Linked DNA regions of Homo sapiens: regions 1, 2 and 3 are each linked to region 4. The links are contacts of gene promoters, found by promoter capture Hi-C in blood cells and fetal thymus (Javierre and others, 2016). All regions are on one chromosome and are shown on one strand. The core of a region is centred on a gene start or on the middle of the fragment in contact, and the rest is flanking DNA. Distances in the headings are between cores, read along the strand shown. Region 1 overlaps LOC101927045 (a long non-coding RNA gene). Region 2 overlaps NEDD8-MDP1 (NEDD8-MDP1 readthrough). Region 3 overlaps NYNRIN (NYN domain and retroviral integrase containing). Region 4 holds the start of ADCY4 (adenylate cyclase 4).

Region 1 (4,665 bases), core at 1,466-3,965, 110 kb after region 4:
ATCCCCAGCTATTGAGGGAAAGACCTGGTGGGAGGTGATTGGATCATGGGGGCAGTTTCCCCCATGCTGTCCTCATGATAGTGAGGGTGTTCCCATGAGATCTGATGGTTTTATAAGTAGCAGTTTCCTGTGGGCTTTTCACTTACTGTTTTTCCTGCCACCATGTGAAGAAGGTCTTTGCTTCCCCTTTGCCTTCCACCATGATTATAAGTTTCCTGAGGCCTCCTGGGACATGCGGAATTGTGACTCAATTAAACCTGTTTTCTTTATAAATTACCCAGTCCCCAGCAGTTCTTTATAGAAGTGTGAAAACAGACTAATACAATCCTGAAGCATTTCATCAAAGAATTGTAACAGGAGATGAAATATGGCTTCACCAGTATGATCCTGAAGAAAAAGCACAATCAAAGCAATGTCTATCAAGCGGAGGAAGTCAAAGCAAAGCAGACCAGTCAAGAGCAAAGGTAATGGCAACAGTTTTTTTAGGCTACTCAAGGTATTTTCCTTGTTGACTTTGTGGAGGACCAAAGAATGATAACATTAATTTGCCTATTGAGAGTGTTTTGGGAAAGTTAGCCAAAGCTTTAGCAGAAAAACACCTGAGAAAGCTTCACTAGACAGTTCTTCTCCACCGTGACAATGCTTTTGCTCATGTCTCTCATCATACAAGAACAATTTTGTTAGAGTTTCAATGGGAAATCTTTAGGCATCCACCTGATTTGGCTCCTTCTGACTTCTTTTTGTTTCTTAATCTTAAGAAATTCTGTCAAGGGCACCCAGTTTTCTTCAGTTAATAATGTAAAAAGGACTGTATTGATGTGGTTAAGTCTCCAGGACCCTCAGTTCTTTAGGGTGTACTAAATGGCTGGTGTCATTTCTTACGAAAGTGTCTTGAAGTTGGTGGAACTTATGTTGAGAAATAAAGTTTATATTTTATATTTTTTAATCTTTTAATTGATTTTTCCACAACATTTTGAAATTTCCTCATATTTCCCTCTGTCTCTGCCATCACAATCGTCTTATGAGTTATTCTGTCTTGTGTAAATATCTGCAGTAGTCTCCTAGTAGGTCTTCCTGCTTTTGCATGTTTCTCCTCTCCAAACTATTTCACACATTGCAAGCTGAGTGATCTTTGAAAACCATATGAGGGGAACATTATAGTGGCACGTATAGTTTAAAAAACTCCCAGTTTAAAATTCCTGGATATGCTGGATAAAATTAAACATACCTCCATTTAAATGTATTGCCAAGTTAGCTAGAAAAATAAAAAAATCCCAGAAGCCAAAAAATGAAATGTGTCTTGGGACTGAGGTTATGACAAAGATTATTTGCTTGGCCAAACTTTAGTCAGGCTTCTGAACCTTCTAGGCTCATTTGTACACCTCTTTGTAAAATCCAGTTTTCGCAAAGAGCCTTGCTAAGTCAGTTTAGCAAGAACCCCCTCAACCCTTGATATCTGATCACTCTCAATCTCTGATCAGGCCCCTCATCCTTCATCCCCTAGGTGATGTCTGATCACCTTGGCCTATCTTCACATGAATCCCGTTAGTTTGGGTTAGCCAGAATCCCTCTTACCCTTGATATTTTTCTCTTACTAATTTTTCATCCACTGACCCCCACCGTATTCGTTGGCTATAAATTCCCACTTGCCCATGTTGTTTCATACTTGACCCCAATCTCTCCCACTGCAAGACCACATTGTAGTGGTACCTGTACCTATTGTGATGGAAAGTCTTCCTTACCTTACTCTATCAAGTGTCACTGAATAATTTTCTTTAACAGGTATTTTGTGACTTTTAGTTTCAGTAACCCAGAGGCTTGGGTGACAGGAGACCATGCCTGAGATCGAAGCAAATTTGGGACTGAGACCCCTGGATAAAGCCCTTGGGCTGTGTTCTCAGATAAAAAGTAAACTTTAAAAGTCCACCTGGTATCAAAGAACATGGCCTGGAAACTTGTTTCTCTAGGCTTTGCTCTTGTCTAGGATTGGTTGTCAAAAAAATTACCGTTCTTTGAGAAGTTGTATCTATTGTCCTGTCCGCCTGCATATTTGTGGTTTGAATTAATTGTTACCTACTTGGCCTAGAAAGCTCTAACCCAAGAATTTAAATTAAGTGTTCCAGATAGAAGACATAAATCTTCCCTTGGTTTGGTTTCACAGGATTTCAATAGATAAAATCCTGCCAAGCATAAACATACAATACAAAATTACAAAACACACAAGGAAACAAAGCACTCTGAGGGTGTCAAATAAAATCAAACCAAACCGAAACAGAAAACAGCAGATTTAGACAAAGATTTAAAGTGTTAGAATTTAGAGGTATAGAATATAAAATTACCAAAGTTTAAAACGTTTAAGAAAGAGAAGAAATTAAAAACATGAGAAAGAGACAAGATGCTATCAAAAAATACCAGCAGAATTGATAAAAGAACCAACCTGAACTTTGAAAAATTAAAATTTTTTTAATTCAAAAAATTTTTTATTGTACTTTAAGTTCTAGGGTACATGTGCACAATGTGCAGGTTTGTTACATATGTATACATGTGCCATGTTGGTGTGCTGCATCCATTAACTCATCATTTACATTAGGTATTCCTCCTAATGCTATCCCTCCCCCCACACCCACCCCACAATAGGCCCCGGTGTGTGATGTTCCCCACCCTGTGTCCAAGCATTCTTATTGTTCAGTTCCCACCTATGAGTGAGAACATGCAGTGTTTGGTTTTTTGTCCTTGCGAGAATTTGCTCAGAATGATGGTTTCCAGCTTCATCCATGTCCCTACAATGGATCATCCTTTTTAATGGATGCATAGTATTCCATGGTGTATATGTGCCACATTTTCTTAATCCAGTCTATCATTGATTGACATTTGGGTTGGTTCCAAGTTTCTGCTATTGTGAATAGTGCCACAGTAAACATACATGTGCACGTGTCTTTATAGTAGCATGATTTATAATCCTTTGGGTATATACCCAGTAATGGGATTGCTGGGTCAAATGGTATTTCTAGTTCTAGATCCTTGAGGAATCACCACACTCCCTTCCACACTAGTTTCCACTCCCACCAACAGTGTAAAAGTGTTCCTATTTCTCCACATCCTCTCCAGCACCTGTTGTTTCCTGACTTTTTAATGATTGCCATTCTAACCGGTGTGAGATGGTATCTCATTGTGGTTTTGATTTGCATTTCTCTGATGGCCAGTGATAATGAGCATTTTTTCATGTGTCTGTTGGCTGCATAAATGTCTTCTTTTGAGAAGTGTCTGTTCATATCCTTCACCCACTTTTTGATGGGGTTGTTTGATTTTTTCTTGTGAATTTGTTTGAGTTCATTGTAGATTCTGGATATCAGCCCTTTGTCAGATGGGTGGATTGCAAAAAATTTTCTCCCATTCTGTAGGTTGCCTGTTCCCTCTCATAGTAGTTTCTTTTGCTGTGCAGAAGCTGTTTAGTTTAATTAGATCCCATTTGTCTATTTTGGCTTTTTTTGCCATTGCTTTTGGTGTTTTAGACATGAAGTCCTTGCCCATGCCTATGTCCTGAATGGTATTGCCTAGGTTTTCTTCTAGGGTTTTTATGGTTTTAGGTCTAACATTTAAGTCTTTAATCCATCTTGAATTAATTTTTATATAAGGTGTAAGGAAGGGATCCAGTTTCAGCTTTCTACATATGGCTAGCCAGTTTTCCCAGCACCATTTATTAAATAGGGAATCCTTTCCCTGTTTCTTGTTTTTGTGAGGTTTGTCAAAGATCAGATGGTGGTAGATGTGTGGTATTATTTCTGAGGGCTCTGTTCTGTTCCATTGGTCTATCTCTCTGTTTTGGTACCAGTACGCTGCTGTTTTGGTTACTGTAGCCTTGTAGTATAGTTTGAAGTCAGGTAGCATGATGCCTCCAGCTTTGTTCTTTTGGCTTAGGATTGTCTTGGCAATGCGGCCTCTTTTTTGGTTCCATATGAGCCTTAAAGTAGTTTTTTCCAATTCTGTGAAGAAAGTCATTGGCAGCTCGATGGGGATGGCATTAAATCTGTAAATTACCTTGGGCAGTATGGCCATTTCGATGATATTCATTCTTCCTATCCATGAGCATGGAATGTTCTTCCATTTGTTTGTGTCCCCTTTTATGTCATTGAGCAGTGGTTTGTAGTTCTCCTTGAAGAGGTCCTTCACATCCCTTGTGAGTTGTATTCCTAGGTATTTTATTCTCTTTGAAGCAATTGTGAATGGGAGTTCACTCATGATTTGGCTCTCTCTTTGTCTGTTATTGGTGTTTAGGAATGCTTGTGATTTTTGCACATTGATTTTGTATCCTGAGACTGTTGAAGTTGCTTATCAGCTTAAGGAGATTTTGGGCTGAGACGGTGGGGTTTTCTAAATATACAATCATGTCATCTGCAAACAGGGACAATTTGACTTCCTCTTTTCCTAATTGAATATCTCTTTATTTATTTCTCCTGCCTGATTACCCTGGCCAGAACTTCCAACACTATGTTGAATAGGAGTGGTGAGAGAGGGCATCCCTGTCTTGTACCAGTTTTCAAAGGGAATGCTTCCAGTTTTTGCCCATTCAGTTTGATATTGGCTGTGGGTTTGTCATAAATAGCTCTTATTATTTTGAGATACATCCCATCAATACCTAGTTTATTGAAAGTTTTTTGGCATGTA
Region 2 (4,675 bases), core at 1,913-4,412, 110 kb before region 4:
AGGCTTTGAACATACCTTCATTTATCAAATATTTTTAGGCTGTAAACAACTTTGATAGGGCAAGATTCTTTGAACCATCTGATCCTCTTAATTCCATGAGTCATCTTCCAACATCAGTCCCCCAAAATCAGTGAGAATATTGGCATTATTTTAGATGATACGGCAATGAAAGGATTTATTTATTTATTTTTGAGATGGAGTTTCGCTCTTGTTGACCAGGCTGGAGTGCAATGGCACAATCTCGGCTCACTGCAACTTCTGCCTCCCAGGTTCAACCAATTCTCCTGCCTCAGCCTCCCACGTAGCTGGGATTACAGGCATGCGCTACCAGGCCTGGCTAATTTTGTATTTTTAGTAGAGACAGGATTTCTCCATGTTGATCAGGCTGGTCTCAAACTCCCAACCTCAGGTGATCCACCCGCCTCAGCCTCCCAAAGTGCTGGGATTACAGGGGTAAGCCACTGCACCCAGCCTGAAAGATATCTTAAAAAAAGTCAGAAGGACCTTGTTCTAAATATCAATGCTAGAAATTAATATTCAGATAATTTGAAGAATTCTCAAGGACACCAGAAATCATCTCAGCAGTTTTTTAAAAAATGCTAGAATTGGCTGGGCATGGTGGCTCACACCTGCAATCCCAACACCTTGGGAGACTGAGGCGGGAGGATCACTTGAGCCTAGGAGTTCCAGACCAGCCTGGACAACACAGCGAAACCCTGTCTCAACCAAAACAACAACAACAACAACAACAACAACAAAAATTAGCTGAGTACAGTGGTGCATGCCTGTAGTACCAGCTATTTGGGAGGCTGAGGTGGGAGGATCACTTGAGTCCAGAAATTAGAGGCAGCAGCAGTAAGCCACGATTGTGCCACTGTACTCCAGCCTGGGCAACACCCTCGCAAAAAAAAAAAAAAAAAAAAAAAAAAGAAAGTAAAAGAAAAAAGAGAAAAGAAGACAAGAAGTCAACATTACATCTCCCATATCTTTCCAGACTTCTACCTAAATCCTAAATTGCAGCTCTTGTCTTCTTCCGTAAGTTAAGGGCTGGTGATATCCAAATACAATAATTATACTGATTATGCAGTCATAAATGTTGTGTCTTCTCCCATCTGTCCTTGCTCTTAATAGCTCTATCTGTATTAGTCTACAGTGATCCAGGCCACAAACACACCATGCTCATTCTAATTTATGGGCATTTCTTTGCTTCCGTTATTTTCCTTGTTGCAATATCCTCCCCTTCTTCTCCAAACTTCAAGACCCCTTAAATGTAAGATCTCCTCCTGGCCGGGCACAGTGGCTCATGCCTGTAATCCCAGCACTTTGGGAAGCTGAGGTGGGTGGATTACCTGAGGTTGGGAGTTCAAGACCAGCCTGGCCAACATGGAGAAAGCCTTCTCTATTAAAAAATACAAAATTAGCCAGGCGTGGTGGCGCATGCCTGTAATCCCAACTACTCAGGAGGCTGAGGCAGGAGAATCTCTTGAACCCAGGAGGCAGAAGTTGCGGTGAGCTGAGATTGTGCCATTGCACTCCAGCAATGTATAAAACCTCCTGTATGATGTGTAGACCTGTTCCCAGTGTACTTTATTAATACTTCCAATATTAATATACCAATTACAGCTAGTTGTTTAAGTGTTAAACTTTCCTAGTGTTTGACACACAAGCAGTCAATGAATATTTTTGAAGGGCTAAATATACTGATGATCATATTATAATCACAGCTAACATTTACTGAAAACTATTTTTTTCCTTTTATTTTTTTAAGAGACAGGGTCTCACTGTATCAAGCAGGCTGGAGTTCAGTGGTGTGATCCTGGCTCACTGCAGCCTTGACCTCCTGGGTTCAAACAACCCTCCCACCTCAGCCTCCTAAGTAGCAAGGACTACAGGGTGTGTGCACCACCACACTCAGCTATTTTTAAGATTTTTTTGTAGAGACGAGTTCTGTGTTGCTCAGGCTGGTTTCAAACTCATGGGCTCAAGTGATCCTCCTGCCTCGGCCTCCCAAAGAGCTGGGATTACAGGCATGAGCCACCTTGCCCAGCCATTGAACACTTTCTAAGGGTCAGTAACTATGATCAGCATCTTACATGCATCACATTTAATCCTCCCAGTATTTATGAGATATGGACTATTACTATTTCCATTTTATAGATGAGAAAAATAAGCCTTAGGTTAAAAACACATCTACGCAATCAAAAGTAGAGATTGGATCCAGATTCCCTGGTCCCAGAGCCTGTGCTTTTATTTCTGTACTCCGTCCTACCTGAGTCTGGCTGGTCTAGTATTGGGACCCAATGTACACTCCTATAGTAGCTCACAAAATAACATATGGTTTCTCCTTATGGTATTCACATAGAACAGCACGAAACAAGAACTCAGAAAATTTCCCAACAAGGAGAATGATTTAGTACTAGTATGTTTCCAAAAATACAAGAACAATTCCTTTGGATTAACCTGTTTGGATATGAAAGAATAAATTACAGCAGTGATTCTCAAGCTTCTACCCTAACCTATGCTGGTCTGTGTGAAAATTTTCAGCAGCCTATGGTAAAATGAGAAAAGCAGTGTTAAAAGTGAAATTTTCATGAAACTAAATATATTCAGGTGTTAATGTCCTTTCAGAGAATGGTGGTGACAATTTGTGGTAACTTTAAAAAGACAAAATAAAAAGTTTGTAATTCTGTGTTGTCCACAAATTATTTCACTTTCTTTTTTTTTTTTTTTGAGACGGGGTCTCAGTCTCACCCGGATGGAGTGCAATGGTGCAATCATGGCTCACCGCAGCCTCGACATACTGGGCTCAGGTGATCCCCACCTCAGCCTCTTGAGTAGCTGGCATCACAGGCGGGCACCACCACGCCTGACTACATTTTGTATTTTTAGTAGAGATGGGGTTTTGCCATGTTGCCCAGGCTGGTCTCGAACTCCTGACCTCAAGTGATCCACCTGCCTCAGCCTCCCATAGTGCTGGGATTATAGGCATGAGCCACCGTGCCTGGCCGATAATACAAATTTTTATTTATTTATTTATTTTGAGATGGAGTTTTACTCTTGCTGCCCAGGCTGGAGTGCAACGGCACAATCTCAGCTCACCCTGCAACCTCTGCCTCCCAGGTTCAAGCAATTCTCCTATCTCAGCCTCCCAAGTAGCTGGGACTACAGGCATGCACCACCACACCTGGCTAATTTTGTATTTTTAGTAGAGAAGGGTTTCTCCATATTGGTCAGGCTGGTCTTGAACTCCCGACCTCAGGTGATCTGCCTGCCTCGGCCTCCCAAAGTGCTGGGATTATAGATGTGGGCCACCGCACCCGACCACAAATTTTTAAAGAGTGAAAAAAGACTCTCAGAGAAGACCTAGAGCTGCTCTCCCAAGAGCAAAATGCTTGGACCTTATATTTTTAAAAAGGATTATTGGTTTGTAAATTCTAAAAGTCTAGAGCTGGCCCTTTGTTTCTGAAATCGACTGTAGAGGCCCATAAATATATCTAGAGAGCAATTTGGCAATATGGTGTCCCAGCAACAATACTTCCAGGAAAATACTCATGACTATGTCCAAAAGTATACCTACAACAATGGTTATTGCAACCTTTTGATACTGTAAAATTAGAAACACAATCTAAATATCAAACAGTTGAGGGTTAAATAAATTATGGTACAATCATAGAAAAAAAATTACAAATCCCTCAAACAATGTTTAGGATAACTATTTGTAATATATTAACAATATGCTGATAATTTAACAAAAAAGTTATAGTATATAGAGTATAATTAAAATTTTGTAAAAACAACACATGCATCTATATGCTCTCCAAAAAGCTTGGAAGGGTATATACAGTATATTAATGCTTTAACTTGAGCAGTGGAATTATGGGTGATTTTAATTACATTATTATGCTTTTCTGTATTTTCCATTTTTTATACCACAAATGTGAATATGCTGTAATGAGAACAAATTATTTAAAAAACAATGTCCTTGATAAGGGTAAGATTTTGTAAAGCAGCACTGCCTTGTAGAAATATAATACAAGCCATACATGCAATTTTTAAATTTACTAGTAGCCATATTGTAAAAGTTCTTTAAGAGGTAAAATTTTAATATTTTTAAACCCAACATAGCCAAAATATTATTCACATGTAATCAATATAAAAATTAATATATTTTATGTTTTTTCTAACCAAATCCTAAAAATCCTGTATTTCATATTTACATCACATGTAGAGATGGGGCTGGGTGCGGTGGCTCACACCTGTAATCCTAGCACTTTAGGAGGCCGAGGGGGCGGATCACGAGGTCAGGAGTTTGAGACCAGCCTGGCCAACACAGTGAAACCCCATCTCTACTAAAAATACAAAGATTAGTTGGGCATGGTGGTGGGCGCCTGTAGTCCCAGCTACTGGGGAGGCTGAGGCAGGAGAATCGCCTGAACCCAGGAGGCGGAGGTTACGGTGAGCTGAGATCATGCCACTGCACTCCAGCCTGGGCAACAGAGCAAGACTGCATTTCAAAAAAAAAAAAAAAAAAAAAAATAGAGATGGTAGGCTGGGCATGGTAGCATATGCCTGTAATCTCAACACTTTGGGAAGGGGATGTGGGAGTACTGCTTGAGGCTTGGAGTTTTGAGACCAGCCTGGGCAACATAGTGAGATCCCCATCTCTACAATAAAA
Region 3 (5,021 bases), core at 878-3,377, 74 kb after region 4:
GTGGTCTGCCAGAGGAGGTGGAAAAATTTCTAGTATCAGAGCCTCTAGCTGTGTGCCCTTGGGCAAGCTGCATAGCTCTTCTCAGCCTGCAAAATGGGAACAGGCTGTGCCAGGTGTCATCCTCAGTACTTTCTGCGTATTAATTCACTGAAGCTTCAGAGTGGCCCAATGAGGCAGGAACTATTACTGTTCCCATTTTACAGAGGAGGAACTGCAGGCACGGGGGCAGGCGTGTTGTGTGATTAATAACTTGCCACAGGTTGCATAGTTCCTAGCTTATGGAGGGTGCCCAGTAGTGTGCAGCCACTTTCTCCCCAGCTGTCACACAATTCAGGAATGCCAGACTGGGACTAGACCTCAGGAGCATCCAGTTTAACCTTTCTTTTTCTTGGTGAAGAGACTGCGGTGCTGAGAAGGTGATAGATGCCCCACAATTAACCTAATCAGTTGAGGTCGAGTTGGAGCTGCAACCTGGGTTCTTTCCCTCCTCTCTCCCAGGCTTCCCTGTTCTGTTGGTGTTCCCTGGAAAGAAATGGGTGTGTGAGGGTGCAGGACCAGGGAGAGAGTGGCTGGCCATGGGGGAGTCATTTGGCTCATGGTGGATGGGGGGTGGTAGTGGTGGGGCCACATGGTTAGTGAGGGGCTGGCCTTTTGGGTGGCGAGGGCAGATCCAGGGGCAGGCCCCCAACGGGCTGACTTCATTGTGTTCTCCCCATTGTGCCCAGGAATACCTGAAGGGCCTGTGCAGCCCAGAGCTGTGGAAAGAGGTTCGCTACCCACCGATCCTGCACTGTGCCTTCCTTGGGGCCCAAGGCCTCTTCCTGGACTGCCTCTGCTGGAGCACCCTTGCCTACCTGGTGCCTGGCCCCCCTGGCTCCCTGATGGTGGGCGGGCTGACTGAGTCTTTCATCATGACACAGAACTGGCTGGAGGAGCTGGTGGGGCGACTGCGCTGGGGCCCTGCCCCTCTGCTGACCCCCCGGGGGATCTGGGAGGCTGAGGTGACCCGGGCCTTTGGGGCCCTGGTCTGGATCCGTGGTGACCAGCATGCAGGGGACCTACTGCAGCTGCCCCCAGCGGTCCAGGAGCTGCTGCTGAGCCTGGTGCGGGATGCTGCGGGCAAGGAAGACATCATCGAGTGGCTCAGCCGCTTCGGCATCTCTGACTCCCACTCCGATCCGGAGGTTCTAATCTGCCCTCCCCAGCAGCAGAAGGAAGCCCCAGCCATGGTGTCCGTGGGAGAGAGTCCTGGACCCTTTGTGGACATGGGGACCCTCCAGAACAGGGGCCCAGAAAATTCAAAGAGATTATCTAGCCTGGGAGCCACTGGGTCCCTGATCACAGCCCAGAGCACACCGCAGGAGGCAGCAAACCAGCTGGTACGGTAAGTTCTGGAGAATGAGCCTGGCTTCTCTGATCCTACCCCTGCTCCCCTACCCTAAGGAAATAGTAATAGTTTGGGACCAAACTGGCCTTCCACCTTTTCAATGAACTTGGGCTTCCTCCAGGGTCGGTTCCAACAACCAAGATGGTATGGACAGTGCTCAAGAGGAAGGGACAGTGCAAGCCACCAGCAGCCAGGACTCCACGAACCACACACAAGCCTTGTTGAAGCAAAGGCAGGTCCAGAAGATAGAAGATAAACTCCTCTTCCAACCTCCAGTATCAGCCCTGGGTGTGTGCCCACCCTGGAAGGCCTGGACCCCGGGGCCAGCCTTTGGGCCATTGTGGCCGGGGGCTATTGCTGCAACCTTCTGGAGGATCAATGAGCTGCATTCTCTACATCTGGCCTGGCTCCTGTCCCAGGCGTGCTTCAATTTCCCCTTCTGGCAGAGACCTCTGGGCCCCATTCAGTTGAAGCTGCCAGGGCAGAATCCTTTGCCCTTAAATCTGGAGTGGAAGCAGAAGGAGCTGGCTCCTCTGCCTAGTGCAGAAAGCCCAGCTGGTAGACCAGATGGGGGGCTGGGAGGAGAAGCAGCCCTGCAGAATTGCCCAAGGCCAGAGATTTCCCCAAAAGTTACGAGTTTATTGGTGGTCCCTGGGAGCTCAGATGTAAAAGACAAAGTTAGCTCGGATCTCCCACAGATAGGGCCACCCTTGACCTCTACACCCCAACTACAGGCTGGAGGTGAGCCGGGGGATCAAGGGAGTATGCAGTTAGATTTTAAGGGACTGGAAGAGGGACCCGCTCCAGTGCTGCCAACAGGGCAAGGGAAGCCCGTGGCTCAAGGGGGGCTGACAGATCAGTCAGTACCTGGAGCTCAAACAGTGCCTGAAACTCTCAAAGTGCCCATGGCTGCAGCAGTGCCCAAAGCTGAAAATCCCTCCAGAACTCAAGTGCCATCTGCAGCTCCCAAACTGCCTACATCTCGAATGATGCTGGCAGTGCACACAGAGCCTGCAGCTCCCGAAGTGCCTTTGGCTCCAACAAAGCCAACAGCTCAACTGATGGCCACAGCTCAAAAAACAGTTGTGAATCAACCAGTGTTGGTAGCTCAAGTGGAACCCACAACTCCAAAAACTCCCCAGGCTCAGAAGATGCCTGTAGCAAAAACATCACCTGCAGGTCCCAAAACACCCAAAGCTCAAGCCGGGCCTGCAGCTACAGTTTCCAAAGCACCTGCAGCTTCCAAAGCACCTGCAGCTCCCAAAGTACCTGTGACCCCCAGAGTCTCCAGAGCTCCCAAAACACCTGCAGCTCAGAAGGTGCCCACGGATGCAGGGCCAACCTTGGATGTAGCCAGACTTCTGAGTGAGGTCCAGCCTACATCAAGGGCTAGTGTCTCCTTACTGAAGGGCCAGGGGCAGGCTGGAAGGCAGGGTCCCCAGTCCAGTGGCACCTTGGCCCTCAGCAGTAAGCACCAGTTTCAGATGGAGGGGCTCCTGGGGGCTTGGGAGGGGGCCCCAAGGCAGCCACCTCGCCACCTGCAAGCGAACAGCACAGTGACCAGCTTCCAGAGGTACCACGAGGCCCTGAATACACCCTTCGAGCTGAACCTGTCAGGGGAACCTGGAAACCAGGGGTTGCGGCGAGTGGTCATCGATGGCAGCAGTGTGGCCATGGTGTGAGTAGTCACGGGCGTGGGGTGGGCTGGGGATGCTGTGGACCTGGGGCAGGGCATCCCTGGGGGACAGAATGTGGGCATCCCTTCCCAACCTTCCTATGGGCGACATGGGGAAGAGATGGGAGGGAAGTGGTCCATCCATGTTGAATGGCTCCTGCGTGCCAGGCAGTGTGCATGGAATCCTCATAGCAGCCCTCAAGGGCAGGTTTCTGGTTTCCCTGTCTGATAGATGCTGAAGCAGGCTCAGAGGTGGGAAATCTTGCCCAAGATCCCTGAGCCAGCAAGGGGTCCAGCTGGCCTTTTGGCTCAGATGTGTCCACTGCCAAGGTCCATGCCCTTCCCAGGCCAGCTTTTAAACTTTTAGCCCAAACTTCAAGGCCCAGCACAGATTTCTTTTCCTGACTCTGCTGGCCCTTAGCGATTGCCCTTCCTCCACAGTACTTACTGCTGTAGAGGTGTTAGCATAAACATGTGCATGCCACATAATTTGCCACATGATAGAGTAGTTATCTGTGCAGAGCACACTCCCAGCACACTGTCGGTGGCCAGGGAATTTTTGTTTGCTTTAAGCCCTCAACTGAGCTCTCTGAGTGGAGGGGCTGCCTTCTTCCTCTTGCCCTCAATGTCCCTACACACATGCGTACACACAGGTACATGCACACACACACACACATGCACGCGCACACACACAGAGTTTCTGGCAGTGCCCTGCACCAAGTAGGTGCTCACAGAATGTCTGAGTATGGAGGGAAGGGGAGAGGGCATCATTGGTGTCCTTGGTGCTGGCATTGCTTGCTTGCTGCCCCAGGGCTGGCTCTGAGGGAGGAGTGGTGAGGCAGGGTCTTTCCTTGTCCCACGACCCCACAGGCATGGCCTGCAGCACTTCTTCTCCTGCCGAGGAATTGCCATGGCAGTGCAGTTTTTCTGGAACCGGGGACACCGAGAGGTCACTGTGTTTGTACCCACCTGGCAGCTGAAGAAGAACCGGAGGGTGAGAGGTGAGGTGTCCCCTGCCTGCCCAGCCTCCACAGTGTCACCAAGCTTTCTTCTCTCTGCCTTGCTGCCCCGACCCTCTGCCACCCCAGAGTGGCCATTTCCACTTAGCCCTCCCTTGACCATTTCTGTCTTCTGCCTTTCACCCCCAGAGAGCCACTTTCTGACGAAGCTACACTCGCTCAAGATGCTTTCAATCACACCCTCCCAGCTTGAGAATGGCAAGAAGATCACCACCTACGATTATAGGTGTGCCGGTCCCCAGGCCTGCCCTCCTGGGCTCAGGGAGTTGGGCCTGGCTGGTGTGTCAGGTGGAGTCCGGCCTGTCTTCTCTGGGGAAATGGAGGCAAACATGTTGGGGGTGTCGGTTGTGCAGAGGGTGGGGTGGAGCACGGGCATCTGTCAGCAGAGGGATGGGCACATTGAGGAAAGGGCTTGAGGTTGGCTCTCCCCAAGCCCGGAGTTGTTTCTGACTTTGGGACTCTGGAGTCCGTCTGCCTTAGCTAACAGGCATTCTTCCCCCATGACCTGTGAACATCAGAGAGGTTCCCCAGGGTTTTGGGTGCCCGTTTCGGTTGAGGCTCATGTCTCCAGACTGCTTTAGTCTTTTCCTCCCTCGGAGCCCCGGCACTGGTGGAGGTCTGTGCATGGCTGATGTGGATGGAGCCCTGGGCAGGGCTCTGGAAAAGGAGAGCCCTGAATGCCTAAACCCTGAATGCTTGCCTGCTTGTCAATCCTAAGCGCCCACCCCTCAGCATGGCTGCAGGACCTCTGTGCTCAGGGGAAGCCTGTGACCCTGCCTCTCTTAGGGCAGGGAAGGCCCTGGCATAGTCACTGGTCCTGGGTTGGAGTTGATGCTGGGCGGACAGAGATCTTGGTTTCACATAGGCAACTCTCATGCCAGGCAGGGAGAAGTTCTGTTTCTCCACACTCTTCCCAAGACCTGGCACCCAACCAGGCCTG
Region 4 (4,941 bases), core at 77-2,576:
CCGCGGCCGGCAGCTTGAAGGGCGGCGCGAGGCAGCGCTCGAGCAGCAGGGGGCGCCAGGACCCGCGGCGTCCCGCACCTCCCTGGCCACCAGGGCTGCGATCTCGCCACCTGCCTCAACTCCAAGCAGAAGCTGCACAGCCGTCCCAGCATTTTGTCCCCACCTCTTCCCGGATTTAGGCGTGGACCAGCAAGGATTGGCCGCGCCCGGTGATTTTCCCACCTTGCCTCCAAGCAGTGAAAAGAAAACCAGGGGCAGGCCATTTCTAGAATTGGATTGAAGACCTTCTTCCTCCCCAAACAGAAACTGGACATGGGTTTACTTTGGGACTCAGTGAGAGCCCGGTGGAGGGTGCCTTCTGGGAGTCTGTGGGTACAACTGCTCTACATCCCCTAAGAGGGAGAGAAAGGCAGGAAATGAATTCCCCAGGGGCCTCCTAGAATTTCCCCTTTGGAAAACTGGAAAATCCGGTGATGGATTTATTGTAGAACCCGTAGACCACGGATGTTCATAAAGTCTGTCAGAACCCGGACAGAAACGAGAAGCATCCAGGACTCAGCTTTCTCCCTGAGCAGACCCAGAAGGGTAGAGTGACTTGCCCAGGGTCACTGCAGTTCCTAGCCAGGCTCAATGGTCCTTTCTTTCTCTGCTCCCAGCAACGAAAACACATCGAAAAGAAGACCCCACAAACCCCAACCCCGAAAATGCTCCCCAGGTAGAGACCCTCCCGCAGCAGAGGCTCGGCTCACCCTGCCGCTGGCCCAGGCCACTGCGAGCAGCGCCGCGAGCGCACAGAGCACGATCCCCAGCAGCAGCAGCAGCAGCGGGTACTGCTGGCTCAGGCTGTAGTAGGTCTCGTAGAAGAGGTCTTCGCTGGGGGGCGGCCGGGGGCTGAAGAGGCGGGCCATGATCTCCCCAGCCCCGAGCCCCGGGGCTGGCTAGGGCCGGGCGCCGGGTTACCTCCTTCGGCCCGGCGGGCCCCACCTGAGCTTTTCTCACCCGCTCAAAGCCGCTACCACCCCGCGCCCCCAACCTCGTGGCAATCCCGTCTCCTTTTTCAGGCCCTCCCTGCGGCCTCCCAGCCCGCTCCCAGCTGGCGATGAGGGGATCCCTCAGTCCTTTCCTCCTCCTCCCTCAAACCCGGATTGTAGAGGTGCCCTAGAAAAGCCTCATCGCCAGGAGGGCAGGATTTGGGGTTGGTGCGAGGGAGCCCCGGGTTCCCCTGATCCCCGAACTCACTGCCCGCGGCGCTGGCGCAGCGGAGTGGGCTAGGTCCGGGGAGGGAGCCGGGGACCTGATGGCGGAGTCACGCTCGCCGCTGCGCTCTGGCTCAGAGTCCCGGGCGACAGGCGCTTCCCTCCCGGCGCCGCGGCCCCCTCCCACTTCCCCGACGGGACAGCCCGGCCCCTTCCTGTGCCAAAGCCGGACTCCCCTGGTCTCCTCCCGCACTTGGTTTTGTCTCTCCTAACACCATCGCCTCCCCGCTTCAGCCCCTTCAGGGAAGGGCAATGTGGACCCTGGGAGAGATGCGAAGGGGTGGGCTGGGGTGGACCCAATGGGATGTGTCCAAATGGAGGTGAACGTTTGGTAGTGGGGAGACCGAGGGCGGGGGGCTGAAGCCTGGCGAGAATGTAGGGAAGAATGTGGGTCCTGGTGGGGATCTAGGTCAGAGTTGGGGGCGCTCATTCTCTTGACCTCTCCGCTTGGCTGGCAACCACTACCACCGGGTTTGAACTGTTCATGCTCCGTGGGAGGGGTTGCGCCTGTGTATAGCTTTAGGAGCCATAGCTTTCCACTCCCGAACAGCAACTGGGAATCAAAAGGGAAGCAATGTCCAGGAAGCAACCTGAGTGTGTGGTGGAGGCAGGTATGTGGCGTCATGATCTCTAAGAGCCTGGGGGCACCGTGCGGGGCCAGGTCTGTGATCTTTCACATCAACTCATCCCTCGCCAGAGCCCTGCAAGTGAGTCTTGAGAGCCCGGAAGAAAAGGGACCACAGCCTCTATCCCCAGAGTTTAGGGTTAGGGTGGGGTCGCCATCCTAGGCTTTAGAGGAAGCACTGCCCTGAGATTAGAGAGTGGTCTGGGGAACCAGGCCTCTAGGATTCCTTCCTGTTGTAGCCGGCTGTGCCCTGACCTTGTGTGCCAGGCCATTGCCCACTCCCAGCCCCCAGCATCCCCACTTCCTGCCATAGCAGAGCTGTGGTGCCTCCCTATCCCTCACTGGCAGCTCCCACCCCCATCCCAGTCCCTCCCTGCCCCTGGCTGAGCTCAGACTGACTAGCATTCCATCATGTTTATTGACTCCTGGGGGACAGGTCACAAAGTCAGTTTGTGGGCAGGCCAGACTGCCCTAGAAGGAAGTCAGGGGCCTCAAGGGGTGGCACTCTTCCTTAACTCGTAACTCTTGGAGGCAAGCTTGGAAGGTGCTTTATTTCCCGCTATGATTATACCAACCCTGTGGCCTGCTCCAGGCTTCAGGATCTTTAGGGCCTTCTTGCGAACCTACTGGTGGGGGGTGCTGCAAGCCCCTCCCCTTGCCCGAAGGTGCCAAGCCCCATGTGGGCAAGGCAGTTGTCTGTTGCATAGTCAAGTAGTTGTTGTCTCCAACTTGCACCCCAGAGCAGTTGTATATGTTAACGAGCGGTCGCCCTTTAAGAGAAATAGTGATGGTGGCAGGAGGGTTTAGCTGTCAGAAAGGCCAAGTTGGGGGTGGGTGGGGAGTATGAAGTCTCTACTTGTCAGTGGCTGTGTCAAGGTGTGCCCTGTGCTCCTCCCCTCAGAGCTCCTCTCCAGAATTGTGTTAGCAGAAGCTCTAGAGAGTGGCAATTGACATTTGAGACCCTGATCTTTTTTGCTGGGAGGTCCTCTGGACTGCTGAAACAATGGAACTTAGGGGGCTCACAGAGCTGGTGTTGTGGAAAGTTAGAAGATTCAGGGACAAATCCAAGCTTTGTTGTGTGACCTCAGAGGGCTCCTTTCTCAGGGGGTGTCGGTTTTCCCATTTATGAAATGAGAAGGTTGAGTTAGATCATCTTCTCCCCTCCCCTCCACAAAGTACCCTGAATCTAGATATAGGTCTGGAGGAGGAGTCTGGTGGAAGAATTGAACAGGGAAAAGAAAGAGGTAGAGAATGGGTACCTGTTACTGGATTTGGCTCCGGGGTCCTGCAGGACCAGTTCATGCCTTGTCTCTCAGCCCCCTGCAAACAGCACAGAGCATCCAGTTCTGCCCTGGAGCCTGGCACTCCCACTGCACTCCTCTCAGCCCCAAGTTTTCGCTGGCAAGGGGACAGCATTTATAGGACTCTTAGTGCATCCCCTAATCCTGTCAATGTCTCACCTGATTCCCTCGGGGTCCAGGACTTGGTGTTCCAGTTGAGGTAGGGCTGGGCATCTGGTTTCTGAAAGTTGAGGTCTCTGGAGTCTGGGGAGGTTGGGCCATCGAATCTGAAGATGTGCCTGCTGTCCAGGCTTGTGGAACCTGCTCCTCTTGTGCCCTGCTCCTCTTGGTAAGGCTCGGGCATTTTTTAGGAACAGAGCTGGGAGGCTCCTCTAGATTCAGTTTGTTTAGCCACTCAGAAACCATGACATCATTACGAGAGTGCTGGTTTTCTATGGTTCTCCTAAAGCCATCCATTTCTGTCCCTCCTTGGCCTGACTCTGGGATAGAAAATCTCCTATTGCTGCTCCTGAGCTGAGACAGGAAATCCTTTACCTGCAGGGATGGGAGGAGTTTGCTGGGTATGACTTGGATGAGCCAGAGTAAACCCAAGGGAGTAGTCTCTCGGTCCATAATCTGTTGTCTGGGAACTCAGGGGTGGGCTGGGGACGGTGGGTACAAAGGTCAAGGCATAAAAAGCAGTGGTCAGTGGTGAGTCATTGGATGGCCAGGTAGCCACGCTGTGCCATCCCTGACCAGCTCCTGGGGAGGGGTGATGTTGGCACTCACCGTGGAGACAGCAGCATTCATATTGTTCTCCACCATCTGGAAGACTTCATCAGTTTTTGGTAGGCATTCTAGAGGGACAGCAGAGTGGAGTGCAGGTGAGCAAATCTTCTTTTCCTGAGAAAAGCCCCCTGCTGACAGACCCAAGCTTATCCTAGATCCAGCTAACTGGCCAGCTCACCCTGGAAGGAGGGTCTGTCCTTGGGCTCACTGCTCCAGCAGAGCTGCATTAGCTCCTTCAGTCCTTCTAAGCCGGGAGTCTCAGGCCCGGCTTGGGGCAGCTCAGCCAATGAAGGCCGGTTCTGCCTGTTGCACACTGCTTCGTACACGAGTGATGGTTCGGTTGGCACTGGAGTAGGGGAGGAGGGTGAGAAGAGAAGGCATTCAGGGTAAAAGGGAATTATCTGCTTCATCATGGAAAGAGGCAGGGAGTGTAATGTGGGGGCACGAGGAGGGAGGAGGGCAGTCTAAGTAGGTGAGCGGGAAGGGGAAGCCTTGGGGCTTTCAAGAGAAGGGCACCTGGGGTTAAGGATCCCAGAATCCTCCTAGAGTCTTACACTCAACTTCTCTTCCAGCAAGCACTGCCCACATTAGGATCCCGAAGCTGCAGGAGACACAAAGCTGAGGATCGGTCCAATCACTGGCAAGACTCCTTTCCTATACATCATCCCCTGGGAGGGCCCAGAGAAGTGTAGGAATCCTGGCTGTGTGTTTGGGCCGGGATCCTTACCTGTAGACGTCACTGGCTGTGGAGGCCTTCCGGTTTACGTTAACAAACAGTTCTGGGGCCAAGTAGCCCAGGGTGCCCCCTGGCTCCCCGGACCCTGTCCCTGACTGTGAGCCTCCCTGAAATGTGGACAGGCCAAAATCTGCCAGCTGCAAAGGAAGGAAAGAAGTGGGAGGTAGGGAAGACAAGGGGGCCAGAGAGCCTCCAGGAACCCCCCTGCCCCCAGAAGGTGCAGGTTCAGCTTTGTAAAGGGAGTGTGGAGGTCAA

What was found. Contacts are between HindIII fragments. The CHiCAGO score rates a contact against its expected background, and 5 or more counts as called.
Region 1: a contact is called between a fragment that was not itself captured here and the fragment with the promoter of ADCY4 in region 4, in 4 of 17 cell types (naive CD4 T cells, naive CD8 T cells, total B cells and 1 more). The highest score is 6.8, in naive CD4 T cells.
Region 2: a contact is called between a fragment that was not itself captured here and the fragment with the promoter of ADCY4 in region 4, in 7 of 17 cell types (total CD8 T cells, naive CD8 T cells, naive CD4 T cells and 4 more). The highest score is 11.9, in total CD8 T cells.
Region 3: a contact is called between a fragment that was not itself captured here and the fragment with the promoter of ADCY4 in region 4, in 14 of 17 cell types (naive CD4 T cells, naive CD8 T cells, M1 macrophages and 11 more). The highest score is 12.2, in naive CD4 T cells.

Annotation. Positions count from the first base shown.
Region 1 is chr14:24,445,109-24,449,773 of GRCh38, forward strand. It overlaps LOC101927045 (a long non-coding RNA gene), which reads left to right. Exons shown (of 3, transcript NR_110032.1): 2 at 1-464. Among named protein-coding and RNA genes, the nearest start is that of SDR39U1, 4.7 kb to the left of the region's middle. The HindIII fragment of the contact is 4,219 bases long and covers 607-4,665 here.
Region 2 is chr14:24,218,573-24,223,247 of GRCh38, forward strand. All of the region lies in intron 1 of NEDD8-MDP1 (NEDD8-MDP1 readthrough), which reads right to left. The region is part of intron 1 of NEDD8 (NEDD8 ubiquitin like modifier); the gene reads right to left. Among named protein-coding and RNA genes, the nearest start is that of MDP1, 4.8 kb to the left of the region's middle. The HindIII fragment of the contact is 1,322 bases long and covers 2,502-3,823 here.
Region 3 is chr14:24,407,144-24,412,164 of GRCh38, forward strand. NYNRIN (NYN domain and retroviral integrase containing) reads left to right here. Exons shown (of 9, transcript NM_025081.3): 3 at 726-1,384; 4 at 1,509-3,065; 5 at 3,933-4,063; 6 at 4,211-4,307. Among named protein-coding and RNA genes, the nearest start is that of NYNRIN, 11 kb to the left of the region's middle. The HindIII fragment of the contact is 3,953 bases long and covers 152-4,104 here.
Region 4 is chr14:24,333,745-24,338,685 of GRCh38, forward strand. ADCY4 (adenylate cyclase 4) reads right to left here and starts at 1,327. Exons shown (of 25, transcript NM_001198568.2): 1 at 750-1,327. The coding sequence starts at 908. RIPK3 (receptor interacting serine/threonine kinase 3) reads right to left here. Exons shown (of 10, transcript NM_006871.4): 4 at 4,678-4,823; 5 at 4,505-4,551; 6 at 4,129-4,296; 7 at 3,951-4,018; 8 at 3,342-3,716; 9 at 3,141-3,201; 10 at 2,281-2,651. The coding sequence ends at 2,431. RefSeq lists silencers at 1-63, 724-883, 954-1,033, 3,868-4,057 and an enhancer at 3,699-3,993. The HindIII fragment of the contact is 4,552 bases long and covers 1-2,415 here.